Regions from separate parts of the Homo sapiens genome. Here region 1 is linked to region 2. The links are contacts of gene promoters, found by promoter capture Hi-C in blood cells and fetal thymus (Javierre and others, 2016). All regions are on one chromosome and are shown on one strand. The core of a region is centred on a gene start or on the middle of the fragment in contact, and the rest is flanking DNA. Distances in the headings are between cores, read along the strand shown. Region 1 overlaps CKAP2L (cytoskeleton associated protein 2 like). Region 2 holds the start of IL1A (interleukin 1 alpha).

Region 1 (3,083 bases), core at 137-2,636, 34 kb before region 2:
GTCTACAAAAAAATGTAAACTATAATGGGTGTAGTGGTGTGTACCTGTAGTCCTAGCTACTCAGGAGGCTGAGGTGGAGGATCACTTGGGTCCACCCAGGAGGTTTAAAGTTGCAGTGAGCTATGATGGCATCACTGCACTCCAATCTAGGCAAAAGAGTGAAACCCTGTCTCTTAAAAAAAAAAAAAAAATGAAAAAAGGAACTGCAAGAAGAATATGATATATATTCTGCAAATCATGTTTGAGCTTACATCTATCACTTTATTTTCATTTCAGTGTATTATTTTATGAAATAAAACTAGATTAAACACAGAAATGAGGAAAAAATAATTCATGTAAGCTGAATTACAAAATAAAATAGCAGGCATAAGTTTAAACATACAAGTAATCATAATAAATGTGTACGAACTAAATTTGCTTTTTAAAAGCAGAGAGTTTCAAATTTGTTTAAAACATTTAACTGTGTGCATTTATATGAGACATACCTAAAATAAGTCAGCCCATGAAGGCTTAAAGTAAAGGGATGGAAAAAGAGCTACCAGAGCTACCAGACATATTCTAACAACAAAAAGCAGGTGTGGCAAGATTAATCAGACAAAAGAAATCAAAGCAAGTCATGAATCTTTCTGTACCTAACAACATAACTTTAAAAAATAGAAAGTAAAAATTGACAGACATATGAAGAGAAATTGTCAATGATTAATCACAGTGCCAGTGACAGACTTTGGCATATTTCTTTCAGAAAGCAATAGATCAAATAAACAAATAGGATATACATTATTTTCAAACACTTTTGGAACATTTACCAAGAATGATCAGATATTAAGGCCACAAAGAAAATTTCAACAAAATCCATCAAGTAGAGTACACATAGGCCACATTCACCAACTACAATGCAATATAATTAGAAATTAACAGCAGAAAAAAAAAATCTACACATCTGGAAATTAAAAGATACTTTTCTAAGATATTTTTTGGGTTAAAGAACTCAAAATGGGAATCTCAAGCTATTTAGAAATGAACAATGACAAGATATGTCAGTTATGAAGCTTTTGTCTATTGGCCCCAAACCCCATCCTCTGCTTTGTGATGCTGGGGATAAAACTCTGTAAAACTTTCTGCTGGGCAGCAGCTCCCTGCTCAGCTCTGCCAGCAGGGGGCACGAGAGGGAGGCTGCAGGGATGGAGAAGGAAGACACTTGCTTCTTCCTATTTGCTTTCATCACCCCAGCAACGGTCCCTCACCCTGGCAGTAACAGTTGGTTCTAGCATCTTTTTTTCCCCCTCAGAGCCCACCTCCCTGTGCAGCTTCAGAGCAGAAGCACCAAATGGATAGCATCTTTTCCTCAAAATCTGAGCCCCAGCCCTGCAGGGCCTCTCCTCCATCATCTGCTGGGTAGTATGCCTTCCTTACAGTTGGAGTCCCATTTCTACCAGGGTTTGTCTCTCCTGCTTCTTGGTTCTGATACCCTAACCTCTCTTTGTTCTCCTAGACCCAGTGGGTACAAGCTGCTTCCTACAGTTATCACATTACCTCAGGTTCCTGTGTGCTGTCAGCCCTGTGTGTAGCACCCACACTCCTTCTGATCCCTTCAGCATCTTGTGCACACAGGCTTACCGCGTGCTTTCACAGCCAGCATCTGTGCTCCCTCGTATGTGCCCAGAGAGTGAGAAGTGCCTGACAATTCTTGTCCGCCCGAGGCAGCCATGAATAAATGACCATGGAAGCTTTAACAATGTAGCTCCCTTGCCTCTGATCAGGATGACTCTGAGAGATGTGACCTACACTGTCTCCAGAGCTCCCCTGTGGGGCTGTGCCAGAGTCACCGTCCATGGATTCGCTTTTCTGATCCTACAACTTCACTCCCCTCCCAGTTTTCCCTGGAGTGTCTTCCTAATAAACTACTTTCACATGGATTCTCCTCTTAGGCTCCACCTCTAGAGAACCCACATAAGATACTGTGTAACCAATTACATTCTTTCTGTGGTTTGTTTTTCAGACTTGATCCTGACTGATAAAGAGTATTACTTAGTCAAATCTGAGGGATATGACCAAAGTAAAATTCAGAGGCAAATCTGCTATAGCACTGAACATATTTATAAAAAAAAAAAAAAGAAAGACTCACTTTTAAATGATCTAAGGTTTCAATTAAAAAGCTAGGAAAAGAGCAATAAATATAAAAATAGATGCAGACATTGATGCAAGAGAAAAAATAATCAATAAAACCTGAGGTCTTTTAAAAAGATTAATGAGAAAAAATCTTTGGCAATAAAACCTGAGATCTTTTAAAAAGATTGAGAAAAAATCCCTTTAAAAAGTCACAAAATTACTAAAGTTGACTCAAGATATATGAACTCTAGAACAATGACCCCATAACAAATTGAGAGGATATATACAAAATTATCCTCCAAAGAAACACGGTCCAGATGATTTTTATGGGCAAGTTTTTATCAAACCTTCAAAAAATAAAAATAATTCTCATGTCATACAAACTATTTTCAGTTTATAGGGCAAAAAGGAAAATACTCAACTCATCTGCCTAAGTCAGCATAACATTGGTACTAGGAAAACACAAGAAAAGACAACCAAAGTACACAAAAATGTGAATAAAAGAATTGCAACTCACAAAAATATAATACTTCATTTCTCGACATACCTATACTGTATGGACATGCATGAAAACAGAATGAATGACTGGCAATGGTGGTCACCTCCAGAGAGAAGTTTGGGATGCCTAAGTATGTATGTTTGTAGAGGGAGAGGGCTGATCATTTATCTGCATTACTTGAAATGATTTCAATAATAAAAAGGTACTCATTTTTAAATAATACAACAACAAAAAAAGAGGATAAGAAAAAGAACTCAAGTTCAATTCCACAAGGAGAAATAGTTAATATTTAACTGGATGTTGTGAAAATGTTGCCTGGAGTAGACTTAAACTGAACTTTTCCTTTTTTTTGCTGATGTTCAACATTACCAGCCAAAGGACTGAATGAGTTTTGCTCTAGGCAAGGATCTTAGAAGTTTATTCCATCATTTTTTATTAATATATTTTTCCTTCAGGAAAAATTTCTCCTAAGGAT
Region 2 (2,954 bases), core at 149-2,648:
CTTTTTATTTTAACCAAATAGATTATATGTTACACATTACTTTCATGTATTCACTAAAACAGATTTCATAATTTATACTTAGTAAAATATCCAGGCAAAATTTTGACAGCCTAGTTTGTGTTAGTATTTACTACAGATAATGGAAACATCATGTTAGTTTAATATGTTCCGTAATTTTATCTTTGTGTTCATTTACCTTTCTTCTACATCTGAGTGAGATTTGCCTGCATATGTGAGTTCACATGCCCAGCTTGCTGTGGAGCCATTTCCTGTTCCTGAATGAGATCAAGTTTTCCTGAGAATGGACCAGTAAAACCCATTCTTATATCAGGGCATGTGATCTCAACAGAGGCTGTGTCTAAGTTGATGCTGATATTCATGTAGGGCTCAGCAGACCTCAAAAATAATTTTTCTAAAATGGCGGTCTCCCTGCCAATGTAATCTCAGTTTAACATGCTGAATGCTTAGTTTTTCTGGGTCTTCTCTGAACCTGCTCTGACTTCAGGACTAGTACACATCTCTACAACCTCTGCCGGCCTGCCCCCATGCTGGCCACTGTTATGCCTAGCTGGATTCTGGTGAGCCTTGAAACCCTCATTAAATCACAAGAGATAAATCTTATTCCTTACCTGTAACAGTTCTTCAGGTCTTCAAACATGTCTGGAACTTTGGCCATCTTGACTTCTGCAACAGAGAACACCAGCCACCATCAGCTCAGCCAGCCTCTAATCCAGATATCTGTGAGGGGAGCCCCTCCTCTTTGTGCTTCCTGAAAACTTTGTTGAATGACTTAGTCCACATTCAGCATTTTCTCCATCTTCTAGCTCCTTTGAATTAGTTTGCTATGTACCTGTCTCCTTTATTAGATCGTAAACTTCTTTTAGAATGTTTTATTTATGTTGGTATTCCTTATGTGCCCAACCTAATGTATTGCCAGAACAGGCATTCAATCAATGAAAGTTTGAAGAGGTTACAAAAACACCACAAGAATAAGGTATTTGCCTTACACAGAGGTAAGAGAGAGACAGAGTTGGAAATTTTCAATTTTCTCCTAATAATTTTGGATAGTAGAGATTCCCTCCCATGAGAAGCCTCAGTTGTATTCACCCATGCCCTCATAGGAAACTAGTTCTGCTGTCCCTCAGTATAACGAATCAGTCCTTATCAGCAAAATGAGAGAATCATTTTCTGAAATCTGACTGTAATTCTAGGTCACATACCAAACCAGGGAGGGACAAGAAAAGAAAGGAGAGGCTGTAGCTTTAGAGAAGGCAATGTGAGAGAAAACAGCCAAAGAGAAAAACAACAACAGAAAATACTTTAATAGCCAGAGATGTGAGGACAATACCTTTGCTGACTCAAACGCCAATGAAATGACTCCCTCTCTGGCTGGCAGCTTAAGCCTGAGTCAGTCTTCTTCGCCTTTTGTAATTGTCTTAAGTAGGCGTGGCTACGTGGCTACAAGTGCGTCGTCAAAACGGGGAATTTACAGGGAAGAATTCAGTTTTGTATTTTTCTATGTTCATTCAACTCGATACTGGCTAAAATAGTGAAAGATGGCATAGCTGATATTATTGTTGTTTGCAGATATTCCAGAAGTTATTGATTTGGTTCATTTATTCACCCCTTTGCTTTATAAGATGACAAACATGTAGTCTTAGAAAAAGGGAAGCGCGGGAAACTTATCAAGTTTCTAGGAGGAAGGGAGAAATCGTGAAATCCGAAGTCAAGGGGCTAGATTTGGAGAGGAATTTATTAATAATAATAGTTCTAATAGTAGCTGTAGTTGTGTTCTGGCTGAATTTGTTGATTGTGCTCCAGGGTGAATTGGCAGAATACTTGGCAGCTCCTGGCAACTTTTGAGGGAAAATGAGCCATCTTTTCTGAAGAGGGAAGTTTGCTTGATTAAGGCATAAATCACCTCAGAGTTTGGGGTGACAAGCTCCTGGTTAGGGCAGGGTAGAGAAGAGAACAGTGGTATTTGAGCACAAAGAAGTCTTGATCCTCTTACTCTTCTGAATATTGTCAACACATTTCCTATAGAGGGGATGGAGCTTCAGGAGAGAACTCTCCACCCTGGCCCTGTTACAGTAAAGTAGCCCTCTACCAAGGACCAGAGAGAAGCCTGGTCTTCTGTAGGATATGCCCAAGGTGTGTCTTCTGTAGAAGAAGGTGTGTGCAAGCCCCGGGAGGTATGCGTAAGGCCTCAGCCAGAAGCCAGTGGCTAAGTTTGGGAATGGAGATTGGGAGAAAGGAAGGCATGGATTTTTACATATGAGCCTTCAATGGTGTTGCCTGGTTACTATTATTAAAGAATTTCTCAGCTTTTATAATTCCTGTGGCCAGCCTAGTTCAGGTGGTAGAACACCAGACTCTTAGCAAATGAATGTTTTGGGTTCCCAGTTGGAGTTTAAGCCATGTATATTTTAAATAGAGGAAATGAACTAGGTGTGATGGCATGCCCCTGTAGTCCCAGCTATTCAGGAGGCTGAGGCAGGACAATCACTTGAGGCCCAGAGTTTTAGTCCAGTGTGGGCAACATAGTGAAGCCCCCATCTCTAAAAAATAATAAACGCAAAAAAGCATGGATCTGGGAGGAAAGCAGCTTGTGTGAGTTGGATAAAGTATTCCCTCTGTTCCTGTTTAATTGTAAATAATGGGGTTGGTTAGGTGTCATAAGGTCTATTGCAGGTGCAAAATCTCTTATTCTGATTTAATGCCAGTCTAATTCTCCTGGTCATAGACCTGGTGCTATAATAGTTATAACAGGAGCCACAGAAATAACCACACTTGGATGTAAGCAATGTAAGTGTAGCACCAGACTAGGGTAGAAGCTTGGGTGTCTAAGGATGAATCCTGAAGCAACAGTGATGCCAGCCAACTGGCTACATTTCTGCTTACCTTGGTTCCTCTTTAGGCAACACAGAAATGTTAATCCTGATTAACCCTCTCCT

The links. Contacts are between HindIII fragments. The CHiCAGO score rates a contact against its expected background, and 5 or more counts as called.
Region 1: a fragment that was not itself captured here is called in contact with the fragment with the promoter of IL1A in region 2 in 2 of 17 cell types (M2 macrophages and endothelial precursors); the score reaches 5.5 in M2 macrophages.

The regions. Positions count from the first base shown.
Region 1 is chr2:112,748,692-112,751,774 of GRCh38, forward strand. All of the region lies in intron 5 of CKAP2L (cytoskeleton associated protein 2 like), which reads right to left. Among named protein-coding and RNA genes, the nearest start is that of CKAP2L, 14 kb to the right of the region's middle. RefSeq lists an enhancer at 1,314-1,363. The HindIII fragment of the contact is 678 bases long and covers 1,048-1,725 here.
Region 2 is chr2:112,783,095-112,786,048 of GRCh38, forward strand. IL1A (interleukin 1 alpha) reads right to left here and starts at 1,399. Exons shown (of 7, transcript NM_000575.5): 1 at 1,349-1,399; 2 at 630-684. The coding sequence starts at 676. The HindIII fragment of the contact is 4,198 bases long and covers 1-2,832 here.